Linked DNA regions of Homo sapiens: all the other regions are linked to region 1. Evidence: promoter capture Hi-C in 16 types of primary human blood cells and fetal thymus (Javierre and others, 2016). All regions are on one chromosome and are shown on one strand. The core of a region is centred on a gene start or on the middle of the fragment in contact, and the rest is flanking DNA. Distances in the headings are between cores, read along the strand shown.

Region 1 (3,321 bases), core at 453-2,952:
GTTTTTTTTTTTTTTTTTTTTGAGACGGAGTCTTGCTCTGTTGCCCAGGCTGGAGTGCAGTGGCGTGATCTCTGCTCACTGCAACTTCTGCCTCCTGAGTTCAAGAGATCCTCCTGCCTCAGCCTCCTGAGCAGCTGAGACTACAGGCGCGCGACACCACGCCCAGCTAATTTTTGTATTTTTAGTAGAGACGGGGATTCACCATATTGGCCAGGCTGGTATTGAACTCCTGACCTTATGATCCCCTGCCTCGGCCTCCCAAAGTGCTGGGATTACAGGCGTGAGCCACCGCGCCTGGCCCAGGCCTCACTTTGAACCATCATGTAGAAATTTCCTCAGCAAAATGTCCAAGCTTATCACTTATAAGTTCTACTTTCCACCCAACAGAATACAATTCAGGCAAGCTCTCTACCACTTGCCTCCAGTTTCAATAACATATTTCTCCTTTCCATCTGAGCCGTCACCAGAATCACCTTTAATGCCCATACTTCTACCAAGGCTCTTCAAGACAATAGAGGCTTTTCTATCATGCGCCTCAAAATTCTTTCAGCCTCTACCGATTACCCAATTTGAAAACCACTTCCCCATTGTTAGGTATTTGTTACAGCAGTACCCTATTCCCCGTACCAAAAATCTGTGTTACGTTCTCCAGAGAAACAGAACCAAGAGGCCCACTGAGCAAGCGAGATTGATTGATTGATTTTAAAGAATTGGCTCATGCAATTGTGGGGGTTGGCAAGTTGGGAATTCAGGTACGAGTTGATGTTGTAGTTTTGAGTCCAAAGGCTGGAAACTCAGTCAGAACTTTCTGTGTTGCAGTCTGGAGGCAGAATTCCTTTTTCCTTGAGAAACCTGTCTTTGCTCTTAAGGCCTTCAACTGATTTGGATGAGGCCCACCCGCATTATTGAGGGTAATCTGCTTTATTTAGGCTGAGACATGAGAATGGCATGAACCCGGGAGGCGGAGCTTGCAGTGAGCTGAAATCGCGCCACTGCATTCCAGCCTGGGCGACAGGGCGAGACTCCGTCTCAAAAAAAAAAAAAAAAAAAAGAAAAAAATTTTTTTTGAGACGAACTCTCGGCCTGTCGCCCAGGCTGTAGTGCAGTGGTGCAATCTCAGCTCAGTGCAGCCTTTACCTTCTGGGTTCAAGAGATTCTCCCATCTCAGCCTCCCAAGTAGCTTAGACTACAGGCGTGTGCCACCATGCCTGGCTACTTTTTTTTGTATTTTTCGCAGAGATGGGGTTTCACCATGTTGGCCAGGCTGGCCTCGAACTCCTGACCTCAAGTGATCCACCCACCTCAGCCTCCCAAAGTGCTGGAATTACAGGCGTGAGCCACCGTGCTCAGCCAAATTTTTTTTAATTAAAAAAAAGAATTCTTCCTTACCCATGGACTCAGGTCACATTCTCTCTCTCTCTCTCTCACACACACATTTATTGCCCACATGGCTTCATTAAAATTTAAGTTCCAGAAGGATGAGGCCTTTAATTCGCGCACTACACAGGTGCTCAACACACAGTATTTTCCTTCAGTTGTAGAGAAATGAACAGTGGAGGACCCCCGCCGCTGGGTCGCACGAGCTAACAGATCGGCGGTCGCTGGCTCTCCGCTCTTCCAGCCACCCACATCACGGCGCCTAGAGGCGGGACATCCTGTGTGGACAACAGGGAGCTTCCGGATTGAGCCGGAAGTCCCCCCAGAGCGGATGCCGCGGCGGGCCTGTGGGAGCGGGGTCATCTTCTCTCTGCTGCTGTAGCTGCCATGGGCAAAAGAGACCGAGCGGACCGCGGTGAGACGTTGCGCGGGCACGCTCAGCCACGACTGCCCTTGCCGGCCCTGCCCCCCGCTCTGCCTCGGAGCTGCTCCGGGCCTCTGCGCCGGCCGACCCTGCTGGCCCTCCCGCGCGCACCCCGTTGGGACAGGCCTTTGGGCGGGAGAGATGCTGGACCTGGGCGCAGCCCAGCGAACTCGGCCTAGGGGAGACGGGTGAGGGGCGCAACGCCTGCGGGATGCAGGTGGCTCTTAGCTAGGAGTTTGCGGCGGCGCAGGTGAAATGCTGCCAAGCGGTGCGGAGGGAACCCTGAAGGCTCCTGCTGGGCTTACTTCTGTGTTGGTATCTTGCAGACAAGAAGAAATCCAGGAAGCGGCACTATGAGGATGAAGAGGATGATGAAGAGGACGCCCCGGGGAACGACCCTCAGGAAGCGGTTCCCTCGGCGGCGGGGAAGCAGGTGGATGAGTCAGGCACCAAAGTGGATGAATATGGAGCCAAGGACTACAGGCTGCAAATGCCGCTGAAGGACGACCACACCTCCAGGCCCCTCTGGGTGGTAAGCATGCCCTTAGCTTGGGCAGGGCCCAGGAGTGTGCGGAGCGGCAGCTAAATCTTGGGCATCCTCAGAGTCAAAACTGACATTCAGGATACTGCCCCTAGAACTGGCCGGGAGAGAATTTTCATCCACACACGTTGGAACAGCCCAAGGCAACAGCGAGCAGTTGCGCACACGTGTGGCGGCCGGACCTGGGCTTCCAACAGCTCTAACCCCTCGGTTTACTCTCACTCCTTCCCCAGCCCTACCCCATGTAGTGAATCCTTTTATCTGCCGAATAAATAGCATTTATCATGTAACAGTTTGTTTCCTCAAATAATGGAAGACATGTTCGGTAGCAAGCTTTTGCTCTACTTTAAATAATTAATGTTATACATTTAGTTGAAATCTAGCCAAAAGGTAACTTGAGGATAGCCAGTAAGATGGGCTTTCTCTGTGCAGAATAGTAGGAAACAGCTGTTGACTTTGGAAACACTTTCTTCTATTTTTCTTTACTCTTCTGTATCTGATTAATGTAACAGGCCCCACAGTTGTCTGAAGGAGTGCTTGCAAGAATATCTGTGGTGTTGGGCAGCTTATTCTTTCTTGATAATGATATGGGCAAGAGCCCAGTAGTCTCTGCAACTCATGTTTCCTTGTCTGTTTTGTCCATTTGGTATCTCTCAGGCTCCCGATGGCCATATCTTCTTGGAAGCCTTCTCTCCAGTTTACAAATATGCCCAAGACTTCTTGGTGGCTATTGCAGAGCCAGTGTGCCGACCAACCCATGTGCATGAGTACAAACTAACTGCCTACTCCTTGTATGCAGCTGTCAGCGTTGGGCTGCAAACCAGTGACATCACCGAGTACCTCAGGAAGCTCAGCAAGACTGGAGTCCCTGATGGAATTATGCAGTTTATTAAGGCAAGTGACAGCTGAGACCAGCAATTCCACCTGCCCTGCTAATGTAACAATAGGCATAGGTGCTCCATGTTGTCAGCCTGTGGCA
Region 2 (3,021 bases), core at 361-2,860, 150 kb before region 1:
AAATCTTCGTGACTTTGAATTTGTCAGGGGTTTTAAAATATGACACAAAAAACCCTATAAAGGAAAAAATAAATTGGACTATTTCAAAATTAAAAACTGTCATTCTTCAAAAGACACTGTTCATTTTCAGTTGGCATGTGAGGAGCTTAGCAGTCATCACCCCCAACCTCACAACAAGAAAAACGCTGAACAGACTGAAAATCAACAACTTTTCTTGATCCACCAGAGATCTGAGGCCACAGGGCAAACTGCTGTCCTCAAAATGGAGAGACAGAGAAGCACATACAGAGAACCAGAACTTACGGGAGCAGAGGCCTAGGAGTAGAAAACTCCACAGGAACCAGTACCGGGGTAGGGAAACTTAAAACTTAATTGATGATTTGCTGGGCACTCCATGAGAGAGTTAAAAATACCAGGGGAGCCAGTCTTACAGGGCCCCACACAGTTTTTTGTTTTGTTTTGCTTTACCAAGTTGTCACAGTAAAGATCAGAGAAAAATTCCCTGCTGCTTCTGGTAGAGGAAAAGAAAAGGTAACCCAGAGCATTCTCTTCTTAACAAGGTCTGTCCTCAGGGGAAACTGTTTTACCGGAGCCTGACATGTGGGAAGAGAAATACCCAACTCTACCCTCCTCTAGGCTTCCTGCCCACCTCCAGCGGGGAAAGACAAATGAGAAGCCCTTGTGTTGGTCACAGCCCCTGCAGAGGTTCATTAAAAGACTGAGACCTATAGAATGCTTCGTCCCTCCACCCCTCACTAACACATCAACAGGGCTCCTGTAATAACGAGAATACAACTGAACTGCACATCTCAGACCTGATTTATGAAGAAGACTCTAGGGAAACCCAAAGACAACAGGGAAGCCACAGACAAGAACACCAAAGTAAATGTTATCCTCTGACACCTACAGCTAGAGCAAACGGTAAACACAGCCCAACTCCTAGCCAGATAGAATTCTGTATTCACCAAATTATCCTTCAAAAGTGAAGGAGATACTGGAAATACAATCAAGGTTTGTTGTTTTTTTTTTAAGTGAAGGAGAAGTAAAGTACAGAAAGCCTCACAAAAGGCTTGTTTACCTCAGTTTCTTTTGCCCAACACATCATGTTTTATAAGAGACAAATACACTTTGAATAGACAGAACAAACATCAGAATAAGACAGATATGGCAGAGATGCTTGAATTATCAGACAGAAAATTTTAAATAATTGATTAATATGCTAAGGACTCAAATAAGAAAAGTGGCTAACATGCAAGAACAGAGGAGTAATGTAAGTAGAAAGATGGAAATGCCTAAGAAAGAATCAGGTGCAATGGCCAGATGCGGTGGCTCACACCTGTAATCCCAGCACTTTGGGAGGCTGAGGAGGATCGCTTGAGCCCAGGAGTTCGAGACCAGGCTGGGCAACATAGTGAGACCTTGTCTCTATAAAAAGAAAAAAGGAAAAAAGCAAAACAAAATGCTAGAAATAAAAATAAACACTGTAACTGAAGTGAAGAATGCTTTTAGTGGAGTCATGAATAGATGGGACATGGCCAAGGAATGAATCAGTGAGCTTCAAGGAATGTCAATAGAAACTCCCAAAATTGAAATGCAGAGAGGAAGAAGTAATGGAAATGATGGGATAGAATATTCAAGAACTGTGGGACAAATACCAAAGGTATAAAAGGATAGTGTACACATAATGGGAATACCACACAGAGAAGAAAGAAACAGAAGAAATACTTGAAGTAATAACAGAACTTTCCAAAATTAATGGCAGACACCAAACCACAGGTGTAGGAAGCCCAGAGAACACCAAACAGGATGAATACCCCAAAAAATCTACACCTAAGAATATCTATTCAAACTGCAAAAATCAAAGACATGGGAAGAATATAGAAAGAAGCCAGAGGGGAAAAACATCTTATCTGTAGAAGAACAATGGTAAGCATTATATCATGCTTCACATCAGAAACTGCACCCAAGAAGAGAGTGGTTTATGGGATTTAAAGCGTTGAAAGAAAAAAAACCCATCAACCTAGAATTCTGTATTCACCAAATGTTATCCTTCAAAGGTGAAGGAGATACTGGAAATACAATAAAGGTTTTTTTGTTTTTTTTTTTAAGTGAAGGAGAAGTAAAGACTTTATCAGACAATCAAAAATTGAGAGAATTTGTCACCAGTAGACCTGCCTCGCAAGAAGTGTTAAATTCTTCAGAAGGAAAGGGAAATTATGTAGGTCAGAAACTCAGATCTACATAAAGAAAGGAAGAGTGTTAGAGAAGAAATAAATGAAGGTAAAATAAAAATTTAGCTTTCTCATTTTTAACTAATAGGTAAAGTTTTTTCAGTTAATAGTGATTACAGCTTATGGATAAATGAATGACAGCAGTGTTATAAAGATGGAAGAGAGGAATTGAGAATACTTTTTCATAAGGTATTTGCACTACCCATGAAGTGGTAAAGTGTTTTATGAAAGAAGACTTGAATTAGTTGTAAATATTTACTGCAAAGTCACGGGAAACCACACACATTAAAAAACCCCACAAGTATAATTTGTATGATAAGAGAGGAGTAAAAAGGGAATAATATAAAATGCTCGATTAAAACCAGAGAAAGCAAAACACACACAACACACACACACACACACAACCTGAAAAGGCTAGAAAGAACAAAACAAATCAAGGGCAATGAATAGAAATGGAAGAAATATACTTTAAATATAAAGAAATAGATTAAAAGTAAAGGGATGGAGATACAGTATACTATGTTAACACTAATCAAAAGACAGCTGGAGTGGCTGTGTTAATTTCAGGCAAAGTAGACTTCCTCAGAGCAAGGAATGTTATCAGGGATGAAGAGGGGCATTGCATAGCCATAAAGGGGTCAGTTGTCAAAGATGATATAACAGTGTTTAAAGTGTGTGCACCTAGCAACACAGTGTCCCAAGATGAGGCAAGAACTGATAGAACTGCAGGGAGAAATAAACAAACTCATTTTTATGTTGGAGACTTCAGTACCCCTCTATTTAACAGATC
Region 3 (3,018 bases), core at 218-2,717, 170 kb before region 1:
CCATGAGCTTCAGTTTTCTTCTCCCTGAGAAAGACGTCAGATGTCAGTGCACAGAGAGGCCATGGGGATGGATGTGCCCAGCAGGATGCCCAGCATCCAGTAGGTGCCTAATAGGTAGGGCTCCCTCATTGTGGTTATCCTCCAAGTGACTGTTATGTTTTTGATCTGCTTAACTTGGCACTGGATTTGGTGATGTGTGAACTTGTATTTCCCTTCCCACAGTTCACAGTAGTGTAAGGATTATGTGCTCAGGCTCTGGAGTTTAACCAGACCTAGCCTCAGATCCTGGCTCCAATAGTTTACTAACTCTTTGACTTTGAATAAGTCATTTCCCTAATTGGTCTCTGTGGGAGTAATAATAGCACTTACCTTATAGAGGTGTTGTTAGAAGAAAATAAGATATTATGTGTGGGAATTGTTTGGCATATGGTAAACATTCAAATATTGTGGTATCCATCTTGGTGAAAATTGCCACCCTTCAAGGGCATATACTTATTCCAAATTGAGCACTTTCCATGGCTCAAAATATGTAACAAATGTATTAGTTCATTTTCATACTGCTGATAAAGACATACCCAAGACTGGGTAATTTATACAGGAAAAAGGTTTAAAGACTTCCAGTTACATATAGCTGGGGAGGCCTCACAATCATGGCAGAAGGCAGGAGGGGCAAGTCACGTCTCACATGAATGGCTGCAGGCAAAGAGAGAGCTTGTGCAGGAAAACTCCCGTTTTTAAAACCATCAGATCTCATCAGACTCATTCACTACCCGAGAACAGTGGAGGAAAGACCCACCCCCACAATTCAATCACCTCCTACTGGGTTCCTCCCATGACGTGGGAATTGTGGGAGATACAATTCAAGATAAGATGTGGTTGGGGACACAGCCAAACCATATCAACAAGTCTTTTTTTTTTAGTAGAGGCAAGGTTAGTCCCACTATGATGGCCCAGGCTGGTCACCAACTTCTGGGCTCAAGCAATGCTCCTCCAGCCTTGGCCTCCCAAAGTGCTGGGATTATAGGCATGAGCCACCACACCCATCCAGTTAACAAGTCTTAACATTGCCTTAAGAGTCTTTTGAATGTCTATAAATGGTAAAACAACCAACTAGCCAAAAACCTTTGCTCTTTCAAGAAAGAGCAGGTTTGGAGTAATAGCTATGTGATTCCAAGCCAAATATGCTGATTCAGATAATTAGTGAGTCAAGATAATTACCTTTGGGGTCAAAGTAATGTGCTTCTTGTAACTCATGAAGATGCACCCAGAAGAGGCCTCCAGCAGAGTGGGCAGCAGCTGTGCTGCGGGAGCCCGAGCTTGCAGCCTCCGGAGCAGGCACTTCTCGGCTCTATACCATTCACCCCCATGTGGTTTTTACATTATTACTTTTTAGATGGAAAGTAACCTCCTCATGGTTAAAAAAAGAAACAGTTCAAAAGGGTAAGAAAAATCTCCCTACCACAGGGAGGAAATCAGTTTCTGCTCTCTTATAGGACTGTCCGTAGCTATAAAGTCCCTTTTTAAAAGCATATGGGGCCTGGCATGCACACTGCTGTACGCCTTTCTCTTCCCACTCATCACACTGCTGACAAAGATCTCCTGAGTGGGAGGCTTTGAAGCACTGCCCCCACAGAGAGGTACATGATACCCAAGAAATGCCCAGGGCTGGCTTTGGGGCCCCCAGATTCTTAAACGCTGCCAGAGCATGTAATTGCCCCAGTTCCTTACTCTAAAATTCCTATTTTCTGGCTCTCTGACTTGTTTTGTTTTTGTTTTTTTGAGACTGAGTATCTCTCTGTTGCCCAGGCTGGCGTGCAATGGCATGACCTCCACTCACTGCAACCTCCACCTCCTGGGTTCAAGTGACTCTCCTGCCTCAGCCTCATGAGTAGCTGGGATTACAGGCATGCGCCACCATGCCCAGCTAATTTTTGTATTTTTAGTAGAGATGGGGTTTCAGTGTTGACCAGGCTGCTCTTGAACTCCTGACCTCAGGTGATCCACCTGCCTCAGCCTCCCAAAGTGCTGGAATTACAGGTGTGAGCCACTACCCCCAGCCCTGGCTCTCTGAGTTTTAAACCACTTTCTTCAAATTTTGCTGCCAACTCTAATAGTTAGACTTCTTTTGGAGGGTGAAAGGAAGGCAGGAGACTGGGAGGAGAGAAAAGAAAATGGGCGGGTTGGGGGGAAGAAAAAGGGAAAAAAGAAAACCTTTTACATTACAAGGGTAACTACAAAAATGACAACTGTGTCAAAACAACAAAACCAGGTTGAGACCGCCTGGATGCCTGTGGTCAACCGAGTTTGCCCAGTAACTCTGGGACTCAGGGAGAGGGAGGATCTGCGAAAGAAAGCCACTCCTACCTCCTAGGTTTGTGGATTACAGGCAATGGTGTCGGTAAGAGGCCCAGTTCCGGGGATTCCCAGGGCGGATGCTAGAACAAGAACTCTATATCCAGCTGTCCAGGGTCTCACAGCAATAAGTGGTCAAGTCATGGATTTACATCTGACTCCAAAGGCTTTTCCATTACCCACTCATCTCCCATTTCCTTCAGTGGATAGGAGGGCCCAGGAGGGCCTGGAAGCCTGGGCTGAGTGAGTACTGTCAGCCACAGCTGGAGAGAGGCCACACACAGGCCCATCCACCCAGTGTGACGCGGTAAGGCGCCCCGCCCCCCAGGCCATGTGCAGAGGCGACCACCCAGCATCTGCTGATTAAGCTGCTACTGTAGAAGTCCCTGTTTTGGTCTTCCTAAATCAGGGCCTGGGAAAAAGACATGAAGAGGTTTCAGTCCTCCATTTTCCCAGAACAAAAGACTTTTCCTGTCCACATCATATCACTGGCCCGGAATGCATCCGCTGCAACCTCAGCGCCTTCAGCACGATGCAGCACTGCCAGCCGGCCTGGCTCGAGGAGCCTTGGCCAGGATTTACCACCTGCCCCACGTTTTTGAGGATTTCATCACGTGGTGTAATATGATTGCAATACAATTCTTGAAAGATATTGTTTTTACTTTA
Region 4 (2,934 bases), core at 150-2,649, 210 kb before region 1:
GGAAATGTGTTACATTATTTTAGAAATGACATTAAATGTCAGTTTCAACTGTTGGTTTGTTGTACTCATCTGACTTTTAAAAAACTGTCTTTTGGATTTTTTTTAAGCTTGCAATTTAATTGCCAAAACCACTCTAAAAACTTTGGATATTGTTTTGATAACTTTTAAGCTTAACTGTATAATTTCCAGCATACTCGTCCCAAATTCTGTGGTGGTGTTGTCTAAGTGTATTCTTTAGCTCGAGTCTATTAAACTAGTACTTCTTTACTGTAGTGATTTCTCCCCTTTTTTGCCCTGTCATGCCATACATAATGCTATGTTTTCGTGAAACTCATAAAAAATTCATGAGGATTCCTAAATTTTACAATCATTGTCTTATGCAGTGTCCTTGTAAGGGTTTGTTTTGGAATGCTACACCATGTGTCAGGAAATCTGGGGTAGAGTGTAGCGGGTGAGTTTTGGATGACTGCCCAGTGTCTCTCACTTCTTTGGGAGTGACTCCCAGTGCTGTGCCCCGATCCAGCTGTAACTGATTGAGTCACAGTTTCTAATATTGCCTTGGCCAGTTAAGTCATCTCTCTTGGGGATTTATAATTTAGGTTCTAGACAGGGTATAGCTGAGTCATGTTACTGATGGTACTCTAGTAAAATGATCCTTGAGTTCCCTTTTCTAAGCTCTCTGTGCTGCGTTGGTACTTAACCTTCCCAAGTGTTTAGTCATTCAACTGACTTTGATCCTGAGAAGATTGTTCTTTTTTTCTGGACTTAGCTAGAGATGATTTCTGTAGTTTCAACTAAAATAAATCAAGTCACACATAGAAATGGTGTTAGAGTTATGTGATGGATATATCATGGAGAGCATTCCAAAAGCCAATTATAATTTTCCTTTTTGCCTCCTGCTTTAATTGCCTCTGCTGGTACTGTATGCCTCTCCCCACCCTCCCGTCTTAACTCAGCCATCACAAACTGCATGCAAACATGCCTGTTGTCTGCACACCTTTTTTTTGCAGCTCAGTTTCATATAGATGCACTTCCAGTACACTTTTGAAATATCATATACATACTTTGTGAATAGTGCATGTCACACTATACTGTTACAGTATGCTTGGCTGGCTCCTCATCAGACAGCAGCTCTTAAGGTCAGGCCCTGTGACATACTCCGCCTGGATTCTTGGTGTCTTGCACGTAGTAGACATGAAATACATTCTTGTTGGATTAATTTTTCCTCACCTTATGTTATTCCCACTTAAGGCCTTTATTACTCATTTAACAAATACACGTTGAGTATCCCTTATCCAAAATGCTTCAAATCAGAAGTGTTTTGGATTTAGAATTTTTTCGAGTTTTGGAATATTTACTTATACAGAGTGAGCTATTTTGGCGATGGAACCCAAGTCTAAACACGAAATTCATGTGTCTTATATACATAGCTGGAAGGTAATTTTACACATTATTTTAAATAATTTTTCACATGAAACAAAGTTTGTGTTGGGTGCTTATGTGTGGAATTTTCCACTTGTGGTGTCATGTCAGTGCTCAAGAAGTTTCAGATTTTGGAGTTGTCTGAATTTTCAGATTAGGAATGCTCGAACTCTACCTAGTGTGTGTATGTTCTGGAGACCATTCTGCACTCTGAGGATACCTCAGGAAAACAAACCAAAATATGTCTGCCTTCCTAGAGCTTACAATCTAGATAGTTAAATTTTCCATCTGCATTCTTTTAAATTATGAAGTGTGGCTAAAGTAAACTTTAGGCAACATACAGACTATTGTACGGTAATTGTAAGATTCTATGATATCTCTCAAGTCCTAATACCGTTTTAATAGATAAGTGCCTGTTTCAGTGGGATAATAGAGCTTGTGACTGACAAGGAATCTAATACAGTACTGTGTTGAGTGCCCAGTGAGAACTCAAGAAAAATGTATTTAGGAATTTTGAAAAGTGTATGATTTTGGAAACTTACCTGAATGTGCTATATTTCAGTGACTGTGTATAGCAATGACTCTTTGCAATGCTGTGCTGTCATAATGGTGATAAAATATTTAAAAACTCTTCAAACATTGGCTTTGTAGGCTATTTTATAATTTTTCATATTCTTTTTGAATTTGTAGACACAGCATACTTGGGTTAGTAAAAGTTTGGGTTTTATGAGAACATTTTCAAGCCATTTATCTTGTCATTGACAAGAATAATCTTGTCACTTAACTGTTTCATAGCATGATGTTGGGCATATATATTATTAAAGGCTCTTTGGTCCTTGAAAATTGGTCTGTGGTAGGTTCACATAGCTTAAGTCATATATCTAACAAGAAATATTTGGCTCAGTAAATTTTTAAGAGGGTATACTCAAACACGGAAATACTTTCACTTTTTAAGCTAGAATATTATTGCCATGTTATTTAAAGTTGAGCTACCAGATGGGAGAAAAAATTCACCGGATCCTAAAATACTTGTTAGTATTTTGGCATGTTTAATTTTGTATATTTTTCTCTGCATTTTAAAGCCATAGCTATAATATGCACATATCAAGTTTGTACCCCAGGGCATGTTTTCAGAGTAATTATTTCAAGTAACATTATGTGTTGGTATAGTTAGATGAATCATGTTCTCCCTAAAACTTAAGCTTTCTTGTTTCTAGGGTTACTAGACACAGGACCGTGACTACTGTAAGCCTCAATTTTGTTATCATGAGAAGTACCATTATGAGGAGTAAATGAACTAACAGGAGAGAGCCTGTTGTGGTATTGGCTCTTAGTGGGTACTTAGGAAATGTTAACTTCTCCTTTCTTTGTTTGCTTAAATTATCTTGGGAGAAGGTGCCCATATGTTATTTGACCCTTTAAATAAAATTAAATTTTATAGTTCTTTTCCCTTAAATAATCTTAACCTTATAAAACCCAAGAATGTTCCTGTGTAAAAGAACTTGGTTACAT
Region 5 (2,968 bases), core at 98-2,597, 190 kb before region 1:
CAGCCAGCGAAGGGGAATGAGCACCTGTGGTCCTGTGCGTTGGAGCAGAGCCTGGAGGGGAATGAGGCTGAGCTGGAGGTGGCAATGACAAAAGCATGGGCCAGTGGCAGGTGCTGCAGAGGGCTTTGTGCAGGTGTGTTGGTAGTCAGGCAGCATCCCGATTGCAAGAAGAGAATAGGGGATGAGCTAGAGGAAAAGTTTGTTTAGGAAGGAAGTTGATGAGACCGTGGCTTCAGAAGGAAAGTAAGAGTTACAGGGAATTTTCTTGGCAAGCCAATTAGTCTGTTCATATATATATGAAGGTTATAAAAGTTTAAGGTTGGCCGGGCGCGGTGGCTCACGCCTGTAATCCCAGCACTTTGGGAGGCTGAGGTGGGCAGATCACGAGGTCAGGAGGTTGAGACCATCCTGGCTAACATGGAGAAACCCCATCTCTACTAAAAATACAAAAAATTAGCTGGACGTGGTGGCGGGCGCCTGTAGTCCCAGCTACTTTGTAGGCTGGGGCAGGAGAATGGCACAAACCCAGGAGGTGGAGCTCGCGGTGAGCTGAGATTGTGCCACTGCACTCTAGCCCGGGCAACAGAGCGAGATTCAAGTTTAGGGTTAAAAATGGGGTAAACTGTACAAGAGAATAGAAACAATTGAGAATTTTTTACCCTTCTCTCCCCATCCCCAGCAGACACACATAGATCCACTCTTTACTAGTTACCTAAATGCTGAATGGTTTGAATGCCCAGGCATCCATAGATAGGCTTTACTTTGGAAGGTTAGTAATCTTATTTTAGTCTAGCATGGTTACCCACGGATTTGCATAGAACTAAATACATACACATAAATGAGTGCAAGTAAAACTGGGGAAGTGTAAATAAGATTAGTGTACTGTATCAACATCAGTATCCTGGTTGTGATACTATACTGTAGATTCGCAAGTTGTTGCTATTGGGAGAGACATTGGATCTCTCTCTCTATCATTTTTTACAACTTCATTTGAATCTGTAATTATCTTCAAAAGATTTTTACAAAAATAAACATTAAAAATTGATGTATGAGTTGTATATTGAAAAACTACTTTATAGGCATACTGGGAGTTTTGGGGGTCATTTGACGACTCAATTCTTCACAATTCCTCATCTCACAAGTGAACTCATGAGTGACTCCACTATACAAGAGAAAAGGGGATTCCAAGTCATGCGGGCGGGACTAGCCTTGGAAGGCAGAGGGGCATGAGTATATCTGAAGCTGAGGAGAGGAGAAAAGGATTCATGCAAATGCAGAGCAAGTTGGCTTTGGAAGAGAAGTGAGGAATGCATACTGTAGTGTGTGTGATGACAGGCTAGCTGGGAGGCGGCAGGAGGGTGGATTGGGTGACCTTTGGTGGGGAGTAGAGGAGTTTCGAACATTGCAGCTTAATGGGTGGATGTAGGAACAGGAGTGTGAAATGGCCTATGTGCCCCACTGTGGCTGGCCACATAAGAAGCATGCTCTTCCTCTTCCCTTTTTCAGGGCTCTTAGACCTGGAGATCCTGGATTCTGTGCCCGTGCAAGGGTCCCAATGCCTTCAAACAAGGACTATGTTGTCAGGCCCAAATGGAATGTGGAAATGGAGTCATCCAGGGTAAGCAAGCGGAGGATCGGCAAGGTGGATCTCACCTGCAGATTACTGTTTGACTCTTTACTTCATGTGTTAATAACCCTTGTAGCTCTTGAAGTTTGTCTGATTCAGAGAGGACTGTTTTCTGGTCGCTTATCTAGCCAAACCACAAATTGAGCAATAGAGAAAGGAAAAGTATTACCCAGGATTAAAGTTTATTGCTGATGAATTTTTCTTCAGTCTTAATTCAACATTATCAGGTAGGGAAGTTTCTTCTTATTAATCCCTTTACTTCAAGCAAGGCTTGAAATTGAAACCTGGAGTATTCTGATACAGTGAATTTTTTTTTTTAATAACCATGAGAAACAGAGCTTACGTGCTTCAGCAGACCTACCTCTCCCTTTCTCTTCAACGGTTTAAGCAATTCCATTGCAAATGATTAGGGTAGACACTTATTCTGTTATCATTGTAAATACTGCTCAGTGGATCTTCAGTGTTTCTCAGTAATCTCTTTTTATTCTCCAATCAAACTACTACTTCTAGCCTGGTATTCTTAAAAAGGGCCTAAGCCGATTGGAAAAGCATAAGAGGCGATTTGCAGAACAGAAACGACTCAGCAAAGTGCATCGTGCTGTCAAGTTCAGCATTGAAGGCAACAGGATGCCCCTATAGGCCTGGCCCTACCAGAGTATATACACGAGAGGTATTCCCAAGGAAGCATGTACTGTGCATGGGCTTGAATTGTCAACAGTCAGAGTGAAAAGTGTGTGTGTGTGTGCTTTCTTAATCAGAAGAGGCCAGGTCTGCTTTTAGTTTCAAAATAATGACCCTAACAGGCACCTTGGGATATTCAAGGCCTCTTGAATATTTAGAAATTGACATGGAAGTCCCTTCCTTTATCAGTATCCTAGAGAGTAATAGATAATTACTTCCCTAATATGCATTTGGGTCTTCCTGACTGGTACCCGTTTTTATGAAAAAGGTTTTTGTTAGGACCCAGAATTACAGTGATATGTGTTACAGGCATATAAACTAGTTAGTGGTTTCCTGGTGGGAGGTAGCTTGTTTCCTGCTGTCAGTGGCTCAGCAACATGCATTTGAGAACTCATTACATAAAGCCTTATACTAAATATTTAGGAGATGAATTTGATTAACACATACTCAAAATGTGGTCAGAAGTGGAAAAGACTTGGGAACATTCATAAGCCCAACTCACTGATCCACTATGCTTTGAGACTAATGGCACCTTTGTTGCGGAGCACACACAGTGTGTGTGTGTTGCCTGCCTATGGTTCTTCTCCATGACCCCTGCTTTGGCAGCTGTTTCCACTGACTCCACTCTCCTACCTGCCAGTTCATGTTGCTATTAAGTGA

Evidence for each region. Contacts are between HindIII fragments. The CHiCAGO score rates a contact against its expected background, and 5 or more counts as called.
Region 2: a fragment that was not itself captured here is called in contact with the fragment with the promoter of ERCC3 in region 1 in 5 of 17 cell types (endothelial precursors, M2 macrophages, erythroblasts and 2 more); the score reaches 7.2 in endothelial precursors.
Region 3: a fragment that was not itself captured here is called in contact with the fragment with the promoter of ERCC3 in region 1 in 8 of 17 cell types (endothelial precursors, M1 macrophages, megakaryocytes and 5 more); the score reaches 13.1 in endothelial precursors.
Region 4: a fragment that was not itself captured here is called in contact with the fragment with the promoter of ERCC3 in region 1 in 16 of 17 cell types (endothelial precursors, erythroblasts, megakaryocytes and 13 more); the score reaches 13.1 in endothelial precursors.
Region 5: a contact is called between a fragment that was not itself captured here and the fragment with the promoter of ERCC3 in region 1, in 11 of 17 cell types (neutrophils, endothelial precursors, M2 macrophages and 8 more). The highest score is 8.4, in neutrophils.

What each region holds. Positions count from the first base shown.
Region 1 is chr2:127,292,525-127,295,845 of GRCh38, reverse strand. It overlaps ERCC3 (ERCC excision repair 3, TFIIH core complex helicase subunit), which reads left to right and starts at 1,702. Exons shown (of 15, transcript NM_000122.2): 1 at 1,702-1,792; 2 at 2,128-2,333; 3 at 3,000-3,236. The coding sequence starts at 1,765. The HindIII fragment of the contact is 2,323 bases long and covers 355-2,677 here.
Region 2 is chr2:127,447,267-127,450,287 of GRCh38, reverse strand. No RefSeq gene overlaps it. Among named protein-coding and RNA genes, the nearest start is that of MIR4783, 25 kb to the right of the region's middle. The HindIII fragment of the contact is 3,775 bases long and covers 1-3,021 here.
Region 3 is chr2:127,463,231-127,466,248 of GRCh38, reverse strand. No RefSeq gene overlaps it. Among named protein-coding and RNA genes, the nearest start is that of MIR4783, 41 kb to the right of the region's middle. RefSeq lists an enhancer at 2,043-2,650. The HindIII fragment of the contact is 3,714 bases long and covers 1-3,018 here.
Region 4 is chr2:127,506,425-127,509,358 of GRCh38, reverse strand. The region is part of intron 2 of IWS1 (interacts with SUPT6H, CTD assembly factor 1); the gene reads left to right. Among named protein-coding and RNA genes, the nearest start is that of IWS1, 19 kb to the left of the region's middle. The HindIII fragment of the contact is 2,455 bases long and covers 172-2,626 here.
Region 5 is chr2:127,485,203-127,488,170 of GRCh38, reverse strand. IWS1 (interacts with SUPT6H, CTD assembly factor 1) reads left to right here. Exons shown (of 14, transcript NM_017969.3): 13 at 1,507-1,618. Among named protein-coding and RNA genes, the nearest start is that of IWS1, 40 kb to the left of the region's middle. The HindIII fragment of the contact is 8,127 bases long and covers 1-2,968 here.